4 separate regions of the Homo sapiens genome follow, and regions 2, 3 and 4 are each linked to region 1. Evidence: promoter capture Hi-C in 16 types of primary human blood cells and fetal thymus (Javierre and others, 2016). All regions are on one chromosome and are shown on one strand. Each heading gives the region's core, a stretch centred on a gene start or on the middle of the fragment in contact. The rest is flanking DNA. Distances are from core to core; before and after follow the strand shown. Region 1 holds the start of UGGT1 (UDP-glucose glycoprotein glucosyltransferase 1). Region 2 holds the start of ZRANB3 (zinc finger RANBP2-type containing 3). Region 3 holds the start of CLASP1-AS1 (CLASP1 antisense RNA 1). Region 4 holds the start of TSN (translin).

What was found. The method cuts DNA at HindIII sites, captures the fragments that hold promoters and counts their contacts. A CHiCAGO score of 5 or more calls a contact.
Region 2: a contact is called between the fragment with the promoter of ZRANB3 here and the fragment with the promoter of UGGT1 in region 1, in 2 of 17 cell types (monocytes and total B cells). The highest score is 5.5, in monocytes.
Region 3: the fragment with the promoter of CLASP1-AS1 here is called in contact with the fragment with the promoter of UGGT1 in region 1 in 4 of 17 cell types (activated CD4 T cells, total CD8 T cells, total B cells and 1 more); the score reaches 6.7 in activated CD4 T cells.
Region 4: a contact is called between a fragment that was not itself captured here and the fragment with the promoter of UGGT1 in region 1, in 2 of 17 cell types (naive B cells and naive CD4 T cells). The highest score is 6.1, in naive B cells.

What each region holds. Positions count from the first base shown.
Region 1 is chr2:128,089,508-128,092,932 of GRCh38, forward strand. It overlaps UGGT1 (UDP-glucose glycoprotein glucosyltransferase 1), which reads left to right and starts at 1,693. Exons shown (of 41, transcript NM_020120.4): 1 at 1,693-1,908. The coding sequence starts at 1,851. RefSeq lists an enhancer at 1,455-1,764. The HindIII fragment of the contact is 755 bases long and covers 1,461-2,215 here.
Region 2 is chr2:135,529,408-135,532,832 of GRCh38, forward strand. ZRANB3 (zinc finger RANBP2-type containing 3) reads right to left here and starts at 1,811. Exons shown (of 21, transcript NM_032143.4): 1 at 1,720-1,811. R3HDM1 (R3H domain containing 1) reads left to right here and starts at 2,077. Exons shown (of 27, transcript NM_001378107.1): 1 at 2,077-2,226. RefSeq lists enhancers at 1,124-1,203, 1,554-1,823, 1,792-2,086 and a silencer at 2,054-2,243. The HindIII fragment of the contact is 14,144 bases long and covers 1-1,964 here.
Region 3 is chr2:121,528,369-121,531,793 of GRCh38, forward strand. CLASP1-AS1 (CLASP1 antisense RNA 1) reads left to right here and starts at 1,800. Exons shown (of 2, transcript XR_001739683.2): 1 at 1,800-2,407. CLASP1 (cytoplasmic linker associated protein 1) reads right to left here. Exons shown (of 41, transcript NM_001395891.1): 3 at 1,879-1,957; 4 at 309-412. It overlaps RNU4ATAC (RNA, U4atac small nuclear), which reads left to right and starts at 2,512; the gene lies at 2,512-2,641. RefSeq lists a silencer at 1,670-1,869 and an enhancer at 2,060-2,189. The HindIII fragment of the contact is 3,511 bases long and covers 1,066-3,425 here.
Region 4 is chr2:121,754,587-121,758,011 of GRCh38, forward strand. It overlaps TSN (translin), which reads left to right and starts at 1,065. Exons shown (of 6, transcript NM_004622.3): 1 at 1,065-1,259; 2 at 2,654-2,747. The coding sequence starts at 1,194. RefSeq lists an enhancer at 930-1,119. The HindIII fragment of the contact is 5,575 bases long and covers 1-3,425 here.

The sequences.
Region 1 (3,425 bases), core at 443-2,942:
AAAGATGTTGGTAAATGCTAACTGTCCATATTCACATAGAGACCCAGTGTACTCTCCGAGCCCAATATACAGAGAAAGCAGGAAGAAAGCTAGAATTGAATGCTCTGCTACACATGGGCCTAGAGCCCTCCAGCTTCCAGCAGGGCGAAGGGAGCAGGTTTTTCTTTTTTCCCACAGAGCTGGGGTGATGTTGATTCTATACAGTTTTTGCTCAGACAGGAAGGGATAAAAATGAATTTCGAACAGAAAGGGGTAGAGACTCTTTTCCCATTGTATTCTGCTGAAGTTATTTCCCCCAAAATAAGTTGAGAACTATAGTGTAGAGAAAAGAAACCTCAAGAACAGGGCGACTGAGCACAAGAGAGAAAAAACAAAAAACAAAAAAACAAAAAAACTGCAACTTGCTCCCAGGGACTGGAGAAAATGTAAAAAAAGGAAGGTTGGAATCCATCAGTGTTTTTTTGCTGTTGTTGTTGCTGTTTTTTTTTTTTTTGAGATGGAGTCTCCCTCTCTCGCCCAGGCTGGAGTGCAGTGATGCGATCTCTGCTCACTGCAAGCAACCTCCGCCTCCCGGGTTCACGCCATTCTCCTGCCTCAGCCTCCATCCTCAGCGTGAGCCACCGCGCCCGGCCTCCATCAGTGTTCCATTAGTCATCTCCTTCATCCTCCTCTCCTTCCTCCCCTTCATCATGTTGGCTCATGTTTATTTATTAAAATTATTTTGGGCCGGGCGCAGTGGGTCACGCCTGTAATCCCAGCACTTGGGAGGCCGAGGCGGGTGGATCATCTGAGGTCAGCAGTTCGAGACCAGCCTGGCCAACAGGGTGAAACCCTGTCTCTACTAAAAATACAAAAATTAGCCAGGCGCGGTGGCGCACGCCTGTAATCCCAGCTACTGGGGAGGCTGAGGTGGGAGAATCGCTTGAATGCGGGTCGGGGGGTTGGGGGGTGGGGGGCGCGGGCGGGGGCGCGGAGGTTGCAGTGAGCCGAGATCGCGCCACTGCATTCCAGCCTGGGAGACAGAGCGAGACTCCAACTCCAAAAAAATATTTTTGGCTTTTCATTCACTTTGACTTAATATACTTAAAAATATACCCTCCAAAGAGGTATTCATTTTTGGGTGGGTTAAATGCTACCTATTCCAAAACAATTTTAAACTGGTTTATATTAGTTAAAAAAAAAATACTAAAAGGACAAAGTAGTCCCTGTAGACTAAGCTGCCGCTGTCCGAATAAGAAAGCTCAAGCGGCTCATAAAATTTAAAAAGTCTTCCTTTCATCATGCCTCCTGGAAGGTAGCTATCAAAATTTTAGGGTTTAGTATAAAGTCTAAGATGCTCAGAAACATTAAGACAATTGTCCTTACTGTGCCACCGAAAGGCTAAAGGGAGTAAGCTTTTAACAAAGGTTTAAGGGAGTAAGTCCCAGAGTCCAAACTGGATTTCACCGACTGACTGTTGAAGCTTTCGGGTCTCAGCTGTTGGCCCAACGAACCTTCCCAAGACCTTGAAGACCGGCAGCCTACCCGCCACCCTGAAAGGCGGAAGTGAGGAGAGAGGCAGGACTCCCCCCTCCCCAACCCTCGGAGATGAGAGGGCGACCGCGCGACGCTCTGGGCTGCTAGGTCTCGACTCGGTATCCGGAAGTCCTCCAGCGTTCGCCTGCAGGAAGCGGAAGTAAAAGGGCGGCCGGCAGCTGGGCAATTGCTTTGCGAGGCTGGGTGTTGAGTCGAGCCGCGGGAAAGGCGCGTGTCGGCCTCTCACTGGCGCAGCCTGCACTGCCGCTGCCGCCTCGCCCCGCCCTGCCCTGGCGTTGTCTCTGGCACTGTGGCGGACTGACCACGGCCCGGGCATGGGCTGCAAGGGAGACGCGAGCGGTGCGTGTGCCGCGGGTGCGCTGCCGGTGACAGGTACCCAGGGGTGGCGTGAGGAGGCCTCGTGGACAAAGAGAGGGTTTGGGGCACAAGGCGACCCTGTGCCCCTGTCACATTGAGCTTCCGCCTCTACCGTGACTCAGTTTACCCTCTGGTGTCCTATCCCTTCCCCTATTCGCGAGCGCCCCGAGTTGCCCTCAGTGGTCTTCTTGGCAAGGTATCGCTTCCGCGGGGGTGGCGGCGGGCTCTGTTCAGCGGTCTTGAACCTTCTTTGAAGAGCTTTAGATCCTTGTGCCAAGTGCAGAAGGAAATGGGGGAGGTATCCTACCATGGATTTAGACCAAGCTTGATCCTCAGTGAGTTGAGAAGCAGCACTTTGCAGGACCCTGATTGCAGAACGACGTGCTTTTTAAAATAGATTTCAATTTTTCCTAAAATGAATTCGGGTTGATGCGTATTGGTTACTGTTTTCTTTTAACACTGTGATCTGTTGGCTGGAAATTGGATGATATGGTTTCACTTTTAGCGTGGGACCTGCCAGAATGAGATCTGCGTCCGTCGCCAATAACTTATAGATGTGAACTGTTTTTGTTCCTTGGCCAGAATCTGCAGTTGTTTTGCATTTCTTGCCAGATTTGAGAAGGAGCAATTTTGTTCGTTTGAAGTCCTGGGGTCTTTTGCCTTATTGTGCTACACTAACTGTTTTGGAAACATTCATTGATGTACTTGCCAGCCAATTTTAGTGTAAAGTGCCCTCTTTCCTTCAAGAATCTTACACTTGCAGGCGTTTGAAGACATTTTAAATAGCTATTTAACAGCACCACAAAACTTGGAATAATTGTAGCCTTTTCACTTTGCTTTTTTTTTTTTTAAGCCAGTCGAATTTAGCAACACTTGACTTGCTTTTGATAAACTTAGCTGAAGCTTATTTTAAAAAAATTCTTATTTATTTATTTATTTATTTATTTTGTAGAGATGAGGTCTTGTTACCTACCAGTCTGATCTTGAACTCCTGGCCACATGAAACTTATTAAAGGAAGTGACCATAATACTTTGTACAGTAGCATAGCACATTTATAATGCACATTGAACTTCAGGGGAATATATGAAAGTAAGAAGAAAATTTGCTTAGAACTTTCCTGCAGCTGTCTGTGAGCATTTTCTTTTTTTATCTAAGTTTCCCTGTAACAATACAAGATGATGTGATAATTTTCTTTCTTTCTTTCTTTTTTTTTTTTTTTTTGAGATGGAGTTTCACTCTTGTTACCCAGGCTGGAGTGCAATGGTGCAAGAGATAGTGTTTTAATTTATTTTTTTATTTTTTGTTGGTGAGGCAGAGTCTTGCTCTGTTGCCCAGGTTAGAGAATAGTGACATGATCTTGCTAGCTGCAGCCTCCACCTCCTGGGCTCAGGTGGTCCTCCTACCTCAGCCTCCTACGGATGGTTGTTGATAGTTGGGCCTAGAACTTGTTAAAGAGTGTTTTCTGTTTATTCATCATGCCGCAAGTATAATGCTTATCATGCAAAGCCACATGGCACATTCTGTTGGCCAT
Region 2 (3,425 bases), core at 561-3,060, 7.4 Mb after region 1:
TGGGCTCCATGTGGCCGATGAATAAAGGCATCTTTTTAGTGATGCCTTTATTCATCGGTGTATTATAGTTGGCACCCTGTAGTCACACGTTTTTTGTTTTTGTTTTTGTTTTGAGACGGAGTCTCGCTCTGTCACCCGAGGCTGGAGTGCAGTGGCGCGATCTCGGGTCACTGTAACCACTTCCGAAGTTGAAGCGATTCTCCTGCCTCAGCCTCCCGTGTAGCTGGGACTACAGATCCTACAGATCTCTGCCACCACGTCCGGCTAATGTGTGTGTGTGAGTTTTTAGCAGACACAAGATTTCACCATGTTGCCCAGGCTGGTCTCGAACTCCTGACCTCAAGTAATCCTCCCGCCTCGGCCTCCCAAAGTGCTAGGATTACAGGTCTGAGCCACCGCGCCTGTCTGCCACTCGTTTAATAAATGGTCGTTACTCAAAGAGTGGTGATGGGGCCACTCTTGATTATCAATCCTTCAAACAGAAAAGCCCTTTTCTGTGACTCTTTTCCTTCCAAGCTGACTTTAGAAGTGTGTTTGTGGCCGGGCGCGGTGGCTCACGCCTGTAATCCCAGCACTTTGGGAGGCCAAGGTGGGCGGATCACGAGGTCAGGAGATCGAGACCATCCTGGCCAACATGGTGAAACCCCGTCTCTACTAAAAATACAAAAAATTAGCTGGGCTGAGTGGCGCGCGCCTGTAATCCCAGCTACTCCGGAGGCTGAGACAGGAGAATGGCGTGAATCAGTGAGCCAAGATCCCACCACTGCACTCCAGCCTGGGGACAGAGCAAGACTCCGTCTCAAAAAAAAAAAAAAAAAGTGTGTCTGTAAATGTAGTTCAGAACTTCGGAGCCCTGTCTTTACAGTTCAAACTGACCACGCGAAGACTAAAGGCAGTAGAGGTACTTTCTACAAATTTAGCCGTGCAATCTAATAGCGAGCAGGCCGAGACGCCCGCGATTGAAGGCCGGGGTGGAGAAAGTAATAAGGGCCCTGGAAATTACCCCCATCCCATGTCACCCACTCTTTCTTAAAATGCCATTAAATTCCGTTCAACTTTTTATCTCCCATGCAAGAAACTAGCGACTTGCCAGCCACGCCACTTCCAGCCAGTCACACCTGGCGTATTCGCCGCAGAATCTCCAACTCCCGCCACAGGTTTGGGACGTGTCCGCCCCTAAGCGGAAGTGACGTTCAACGGGACAACGTGAAAGTAGATGAGTTTAAATACGTACTAATAATTTAAAACCCCTATGGTATTTTGAGGAAACTCTTCCGGCTACCCTTCTTCCATCACTTCTCTCCCGTTAGGGTTGCGAAAAGGGCTCTGTACAGCCTCGCGACAACTCGTTCTCCGCCCTAATTTCAAGTCATTCAAAACTCTGTCCCTTTTCATTGGCTGAAGCGGCGGCATGGGTACCTCTCAGGAACTACAATTCCAGCCAAGCACCGCGACAAGTGAACGGAGGAGAAGTTATGAGTAGGGGAAAAGCATGTTGGGAATCGTAGTCCGCTCCAGGCCGAAAAGAGCAATCACCCCGCCCTCCGCCACTGAAGCTGGAGAAACCAGGTGTTCGTTTCAGAACCCGTTAGCGCTAAGGGGAGGAGCCAACCCCTTAAGCAGCATGCCTCACTTCGCCCCACATGGAGGATAATTTTCCTTTACCCCTAAAAAGCACTATAAATACCCACTGAGGAGATCTGGTTGTCTTTTAAATACCTCGAGTCAGTAAAAACTCACGAAACTCCGCACCTCAGGCTCCAACTCGTGGGAAAAGGTAGCTCTTTTACAAGTGGGCAAAATGGCTGTCCTCCTAGTTTTACCATTGGTTGGCTTTTGCGTCCTTCAAGGGCGGTTACTTACCACGGATTGGTTCTTTTTCTCTTGAGGTTGGAGGAAGATTTGGCACGGCTCTCCGCGGCCTGGGAGGAGGTAAAGGGGTGGAGAGAAGACAGTTTTTTTCAAGCTTGATTGGGCAAAACTCATGTCACTCCGGGGACGTACAACCTATGAATAGTCGGCTGCCGCTCAAAGAGAACGAAGAGGCGGGGCTAGTGCGTGGTGGGAAGGGGCGGGATTCTGCCAGCCGCGGCTGCCGCTGGAGCCGGTGTCCGGGCTGGTGATGGGGTTAATTCCCTTTCGTAAGACTCTTACTTGCACCCACCCAGCCCCGCCGTCGCCCCGCCGCGCCGCGCTCCAACCGCCTCCTCCTCCTCAGTAACGCGGGTAAGAGATGCCCTTCCCTCCCCCGTCCAGCTCCCCGGGAATAACGCGCCTTGCTCCCCTCCCCCGCCCGCCAACCGGTAGCGCTAACGGAGAAGGAGGCAGGCAGGGGAGAGATGTGGTGTGTGGAAAGGTGGCCTTCCCCGCCGGGTCGTCGGCGCTTCAGCCAGGGCCTTCTGACGTCCCGCTGCTGCCAGCCCGCCGTTAGGTCGGGTTCCGAGTGAGCCAGGCTCGCCTGGCCCGCGGCTGCGGCTCCGGCTGCAGCTGCAGCCACTGCCTTGTGCCCACCGCCCCCACCCGGGGGCCATGTGAAAAGCAAACCCCTCGAGGCCTAGCGGAGGAGGCAGGGGAAAGGTTTCCGAGTCCCTGCCATGGCTGCTGCTGCTGCCTCCGCGGCTGCTCTTGCAGCCCCAGGGACTCGGGAGCCAGCCACAGCAGGCCTGCCAAGAGCGTGGTACTGCTCTCTCGTGTGGCTGGCGCCGGTGCCCCGGGCTCCCCCGGCCGCCCCACGGCCGCATCCCCTGGCCTTGCACCAAGAGAATTTTCAGCTTCGACCGGTTGGTAAAATGTAGGTACATTTTCCCTGTGGTACCAGAAAAAGCACAATGGGAATATTAAAAAGAAAGTTGAATGACTGTCAGTGCCACGGTCCCCCGGGATCAGATTTACACACGTTTTGATTCCTGAGCCTTAGGCTGCCAACAAATCTTTGTGGGCTTTGAAGTTTTTTGGTGTTTTGTTTTCTTTTGTTGCTGTGACTAGGTGCAAAGGGTGACTCTGTTGAGCTTGTTTTTATAAAGAAACTTAAATTATTGGGACTATCATGCTCCGTGTGTAATTGTCCTGGGATAGTTAAGTAAAAGGTGAAGAAGAGGTGCTTTCCAAATTAGGATTAGTGAACAGCAAATGGTTTTTCTAATAAAATTTTCTAAATATATATATATATATCTTCATGGTTATAGTTTACCTAATTGTAACTGTAAGAAACCTTTTTTAGCTTAAATATCATTGATGACAAAAACTTTTAAATGAAAAGATGATTAAAGTCAAACTGAAAGTCTACCCATTTATAATATGTGAAACAAGATCTTCTAAGTAATAGGATACCAGTCTGACAGGAATAATTGGACACGTCTCAATTTCTAAAAATTTGGCATATTTGGCTATTTTTAGGGCATTCTGTTATGATTTCTTCATCACAT
Region 3 (3,425 bases), core at 550-3,049, 6.6 Mb before region 1:
GCTCCCTCTTTTCAGAGAATTGGAGAGTCGGTTACATAAATGAGCTGAAGAGTCTAATGGATTAAAACTAAGTATATTAGATTCAATACCCCCATGTTAAATCCACTAATTTACTCATCTCATAGTTTTGTGACTTATTTAAATATCTTGCATGGGGAAACAGATTGAATGCTGTGAAAATTTTTATCTGTAATACATCAGCTTAAGTCTATGGAGTCACACCATTTGTGCAAGTACACACACACACCCTCGCACGTGCATGCACGCGCACTGGCCAGCTGACCTCAAAACACATCTCTTGCCCCTACCTGGGGATTAGCAGCTTGATCCATGATCTTTAGCAGCAGAGTTTGGTCCTGCTCCCTCACAGAGTCTTTAGCATCTCCTAGTCTGTCTATTAGACTTGGCAGCACTGAAAATCAAAATGGAAACTGATCAAATGAAACCCTATTTGGGGGTCTGTGGTCACCAAGTATTCCTATCTCAATTATGTGGGAAGACAAACCCCTGACCTAAATGATGTATCTCATTCTAAAACCACTCATCTTTGCTCACAGCTCTACTCTCCTTGCTGAAGTCCATGAAAGTCACCAAAAGAGTCTGCAAAATCCTTTGCATGGACAGATACACTATTTGTCTTCCTCCTTACCCCACGTTCCTCCAGCCAGTTCCCAACGTATTTGTAAGCTGATAAAAATGGAAGACCTTGAGAGGAAGAGTCAACAGAAAGGAAAATTTAGGTAAAACACAAGGAGAGGGGCTCCAGTATATGTGTTTGGGGGTGGAAGGAGTGGGCACTTATGAATAAATCTTAAGTTTCATCACTATTGTGTATTTTTAGTTTTACATCACGCCCATACACACATGAGACAGAGCCCAGCTCTCCATCTTCCCCGACATACCCAGGGTGGACCCTCCCACCAGTGGTCCAAGTGCACCTGTAGACCAGAGATCAGCTTATTTTAAGAGTTTGTAAACCTCTATTACATGAGATATCCCTGAATAATTCAGCTAATTTAGGAGGAAAATGGAACACTATTAAAATATCAAATGTCTAAAAGTAAAAGCTTTTTTTAAATTTGTAAACAGTCGGTGCTCATGACCTTTTCAGAAGGAGCATATTGGTCGGAAAGTTAACAGTAAAGAATACATGTGTACCAACGTAAAACAGAGAAATTCCATAAGGAAATGGTTGCATAGAGATGCTTAGTGTTTATACTACCCCCATGAAACACCGGAGGTCAGGAATTTAGAGGTATTTAAATCTATGAAATCTGTGGGTTTTGTTTCATTTTGCTGACATACTGTTTTCCCTTCAAAATAAGAGTGAACATTTACTATACATTTGTAATGACATTTACAATCAAGGTGAAAATAGTCATGCCAACCATAATCATCTGGAGAAAAATACAACTGGCTTGGTTTTATAGGATTTCTCAAGGAAAACTGCCTCTCATTAAAGGGGACCGGGGTCAGGGTAAAATATGACTTGGTTGGCACTAAAGAGTGACAGCTAATTTAGCATAAGAAATAAAAATGGCACTAATATTTCATATTAGAACACGTATTACTAAGTTCCGTGTGAGAACACAGTGAAGCCAGTACAAAGGTATGGGGGAGGGTAAGGGCGCCCGCAGGCCCAGAGGCCAGGGGAGTCCAGCTGGAAGGGAAGGCAGCGGGGCGGCCGACCCAGGCTGCGAGTGCTTAGGGGGGCTGCGGGGGAGGGCGGGGACTGGCTGTTTGGGAGGAGCGGAAGGGAGGGAGAGGGGGCTGGAGGGGAGGCAGGGTGGCTGCCGGGAGGGTTTGGGAGCCGGGGAGGCCGAGGGAAGGCTGGGGGTCTGAAGGGGCCGGGTCCGCTCCACAAGTGCCGCAGCTCACCTGTGCCGATCTGCGCCTTGAACCGATCCTGCAGCCGGGTCACCAGGGCGGACAGGATGTCCATGCCCAGCAGAACCACCTGCAGCGGGAAACACCGGGAGCCTGTTAGCAGCCGGCCTGCGGGGCAGCGCTCCCGCCCACCCGCTCCGGGGAGGCCTAGACATTTCCGGCCCAGACGCAGTCCGAGAGTCCAGACGCATGCCGACTGGAGGACCAAAGAGATTAGCACGAAGAAGGATGATCTTCCACAAAAAGAGCTATGTACAGCTATAATGGAAAATACTCGGTGAGGAGAAACGAAATAAAAGGCAATACAGCGTAGCCAAACCCGGGTTAGCTGCGGGTGGAGTTCAAGAGCGCGCCGCGGTCCCGCCCCCGCCAGCCCCGCCCCGGCGAGAAAAGCGTATGCAAATTTTCGAGCGGCCGACGCGCGGTCTTCTGGGTAAAACCGAGCCGCCGCTTTTGCGACCCTTCGGGAGCCTCAGAAAACAAAGAATTGGGGTGTCGTCGAAAGCTGTGGAGGCTGGAGGTAAGCTAGCTACCAGACCGACTAGGGCGAGGCTCACGAATTAATTACCACAACCCTACCAGGTATTGGCGCTTCCTGCTTGCAGCCCAGGGACTTTCTATTATAACCATCCTTTTCTTGGGGTTGCGCTACTGTCCAATGAGCGCATAGTGAGGGCAGTACTGCTAACGCCTGAACAACACACCCGCATCAACTAGAGCTTTTGCTTTATTTTGGTGCAATTTTTGGAAAAATGAAAACCTGTTTTCATAGACTTATCAGTTCAAACAGCAGTAATTCGTAAATAAACTAGTACTTTGTGGTTAAACCAGTAGAGGGTGCACAAGACGCGTGGTTTTAGTGTCGCAAGTAAAGTTCTTTCAGTTTTTGCGGTGATTAAACGGGAAGGATTTCAACAGAACTTCACCCCTTTAACTTTACGCCGATCATCAACTGTTCTGTAACTTCCTTATGCTGAGTCAGCCCAGTAGTCTAGGTCAAGTTTCAATAGGAGACGAAGTTTCAGTAGGTCTTTGCACCTCACATAAAATGTAATCCAGGTCGGGCGCGGTGGCTCACGCCTGCAATCCCAGCACTTTGGGAGGCCGAGGGGGGCGGATCACGAGGTCAGGAGATCGAGACCATCCTGGCTAACACAGTGAAACTCCGTCTCTCCTAAAAATACAAAAAATTAGCCGGGCGAGGTGGCCGGCGCCTGTAGTCCCAGCTGCTCGGGAGGCTGAGGCAGGAGAATGGCGTGAATCCGGGGGGGTGGAGCCTGCAGTGAGCAGAGATCGCGCCACTGCACTCCAGCCTGGGCGACAGCGAGACTCCATCTCAAAAAAAAAAAAAAAATAGTAATCCCAGCACTTGGGGAGGCCGAGGCGGGCGGATCAGGAGCTCAGGAGATAGAGACCATCCTGGCCAACATGGTGAAACCCCGTCTCTACTAAAAATACAAAAATTAGCTGGGCGTGGCGGCGCATGCCTGTAGTCCCAGCTACTTGGGAGGCTGAGGCAGGAGAATCGCTTGAACCTG
Region 4 (3,425 bases), core at 554-3,053, 6.3 Mb before region 1:
CACCACGCCCGGCTAGTTTTTGTATCTTTAGTAGAGACGGAGTTTCACCATGTTGGTCAGGCTGGTCTCGAACTCCTGACTTTGTGATCTGCCCGCCTTGGCCTCCCAAAGTGTTGGGATTACAGGTGTGAGCCACTGCGCCCGGCCGATAGTTTTTTAAAAATGTAGGTGCTAGTGGTCTTACTGTCTTCTTCATGGACATGAAATTATTCTCATATAATGAGAATTAAATATGATCCTTCATGTAAAGAGTTTAGAATAATGTCAGAAACAAAGCAAGCAATAAATTATCATTTAGTTGATAAGAATCATTCCAATTCATCTGGCGAGTGCAACACACACACACACTGTATTTGTGTATGGAATAACTGTTCAAGAACACACACACAGTATGTGTGTATGAAATAACTCTTCAAGAACAAAGGGGAAACCGTTATAGGGCATGAAAGGGGAAACCGTTATAGGGCATGGAAGGGGAATTAGGACAAGGTGTGAGTGGAAAGAGAAACATCCCACCGCACACGCTTAAAAAAGCCGTTTAATTTAAAAATAGGTAATACAGCCATACAGAGAAGACATTAAAAGATCTACACAGAAAATTTTCGCTCCCAATCCATTCCCTACTCACAGTCCTACATACGTTACTTTTATTTTCCTTTTTTTTGGAAATGCACTGGCCCCCTACTCTCTCACGAAGGCTGAACTCTCTCTACATTCTTCTGCACCTGTTTTTTGTGCATACTCTTTCGTTGTCAAATATTTCCCTCCAACTGTTGTTGTGTATGAAATAAATACACACATATAAGCTAACCAGCCCCACTTGCCCGCACCACCTACACGCCCGTCCCCGCCCTCCCTCAGGCCCACGTGCTCCGAGGGCCGCCTTCGCAGGTTGTTTCTGGCGATGCCTGTCTGAAGGCCTCAGACTGAGGCCCCGCCCACTCTCCCTCTCCTCTGCCCTTTGGACGCGCGCCTCGGTTCCGAACGCAGCGGACGGCGCCTCAGGCAGCGCGGCGGACAGCCCGTCCTCCGGCGCGCCGCGAGCCTCGGAGGACCCTAGCGACGGTCGTGGCGTAAGACCGGGGGGACGCGGCGGTAGCGGCGGCCGTTGCGATTGATTGCGCTGGTTGCCTGCGGCGTCCACTTCCTTGGCCGCCCTTGCTACACTGGCTGATTGTTGTGCAGCCGGCGCCATGTCTGTGAGCGAGATCTTCGTGGAGCTGCAGGGCTTTTTGGCTGCCGAGCAGGACATCCGAGAGGCGAGCCCCCTCCCTTCCCCATTCCCTTTGCCTTTCCATGCCTAGTTGGGCCACTTCGCCCGGCCCTCCTCTGTCGCTCAGTCTCGGGCGGTGGGGACGCCTCCGAGGGTGGGTTGCTTCCCCTCTAGCTTTAGGTTAGGCACTCCCCGCCCCCGCCCAAAATTTTGCTGCTCTGTCCTGATTCCCCGTGTTCGAGTCTCAGCTTCTCAGCATCACTTGCCTCGTTTGTGTCAGTTTTCCTTCTTTTCAGCACTTGTTTATATCGAAGGCTCGATTAGCACCTGGTCTTCAGCGAATGAGCGTTTCGTGTATTTTTGTTGGTGTCTTAAAAGCACATGTGATCTGCTTAAAACTCTCCTGTGATTTCCTATGCCACACAGGATAAAAAATCAGACTCTACTGTGGCTCACATGGTTTCTCTTCAATCTCGTTTATGCTCTCTGTCTTTGTGTATGATGTTCACTTTACCTCTTCTAGTGCCCCAAATAGCTTCCTGCCTGTTTGCTTTTCCTGGAATTTGCTTCTTTCCCGTTCTTTTCCTGATTGTCTCGTATTTATCTCATTGGCGTCACAGTCTAAGCGATCTATTTCCTGTTATGTTTTCTAGTAGCACATTAACTTTTTTTAATGTGTGTAATATTGATTATTTTAAAAAAATCTTCTCCCTCATTGTATGTTAAACCGCCAGAGGGAAGGGATTGTGTGCTTGGTTCCCCGGTATTTACACAGTGCCTCGCACATAAGTATGCTCAGTGAATATTTTAAAAATGAATTAGAGGCGGGGAGCGGCGCCTCATGCCTGTAATTCCAGCATTTTGGGAGGCCGAGGCGGCCAGATCACCTGAGGTAAGGAGTTTGAGACCAGCCTGGCCAACATGGGGAAACCCTGTCTCTACTAAAAATATAAAAGAACATTAACTGGGCATGGTTGCGCACACCTGTAATCCCAGCTACTCGGGAGGCTGAAGCAGGAGAATGGCGTGAACCCGGGAGGCGGAGGTTGCGGTGAGCTGAGATCGCGCCACTGCACTCCAGCCTGGGTGACAGAGCGAGACTCCGTCTCAAAAAAAAAAAAAAAAAGAAAAAAGAATTAGAAATACCCGACTCTTGTGTTGCATTTAACTCTTCATTTTGCAAGTTGCGTTCACACACGTCATCCATTATAATGTCCCAATTGAATACTTGGGTTTAATGGGTGGCTATTATTCTTTAAAGGGTATCTGAGGAATCTAAGGCTTTTTAGTGACTTTTTGAAGTCTTACAGAGGAAATAAGTGGAAAAGTCAGGATTCAAACTTGGTTATGATAGATCACATAAGCTATCTAATGTGTTTTGTGTGAGTGTATGACAATGATTCTGTTGAGTATCTGATTTTTATTTTTAATTCTCTCTAGGAAATCAGAAAAGTTGTACAGAGTTTAGAACAAACAGCTCGAGAGATTTTAACTCTACTGCAAGGGGTCCATCAGGGTGCTGGGTTTCAGGACAGTAAGTTCTTTGTTTTGTATCCAATTATCAGTCTCTTATTTAGAGGGAGAGTTTCTATCCAGAAGACATTTTATAATGAAAAATGGCTATCATGCTTTATGGTGAGTAAAAATTGAAGAAGTAGGTGATTTGATAATTTTGGTTGATTTTTCTTCCACTTCCACACAGTATGGTTTAAACAGAGATGTTTTCTATTGCGAGGGCATTCTACTGATGATAATTACAATTGCTTAACCCATTTCCTGTTTAGAAAAAAAAAGTGCAGCTCTCTGCCAGCACAGTATTCTCAGGGTAAGCGGGAAAAGGGTTTATTATTATTTTTTTAATTTTTTTTTTTTCTGAGACGGAGTTTCACTCTTGTTGCCCAGGCTGGAGTGCAGTGGTGCCATCTCAGCTCACTGCAACCTCCGCCTCCTGGGTTCAAGCAATTCTCCTGCCTCAGCCTCCTGAGTAGCTGGTGTTACAGGTGCCCGCCATCACGCCCAGCTACTTTTTTTTTTTTTGGTATTTTTATTAGAGATGGGGTTTCACTTTGTTGGCCAGGCTGGTCTTGCACTCCTGACCTCAGATGATCCGCCTGGCTGGGCCTCTCAAAGTGCTGGGATTACAGGCGTGAGCCACTGCACCTGGCCCAAGGGTTTGTAACTCTTTTGTGTTATCTAGTGACTTTTATTTGGC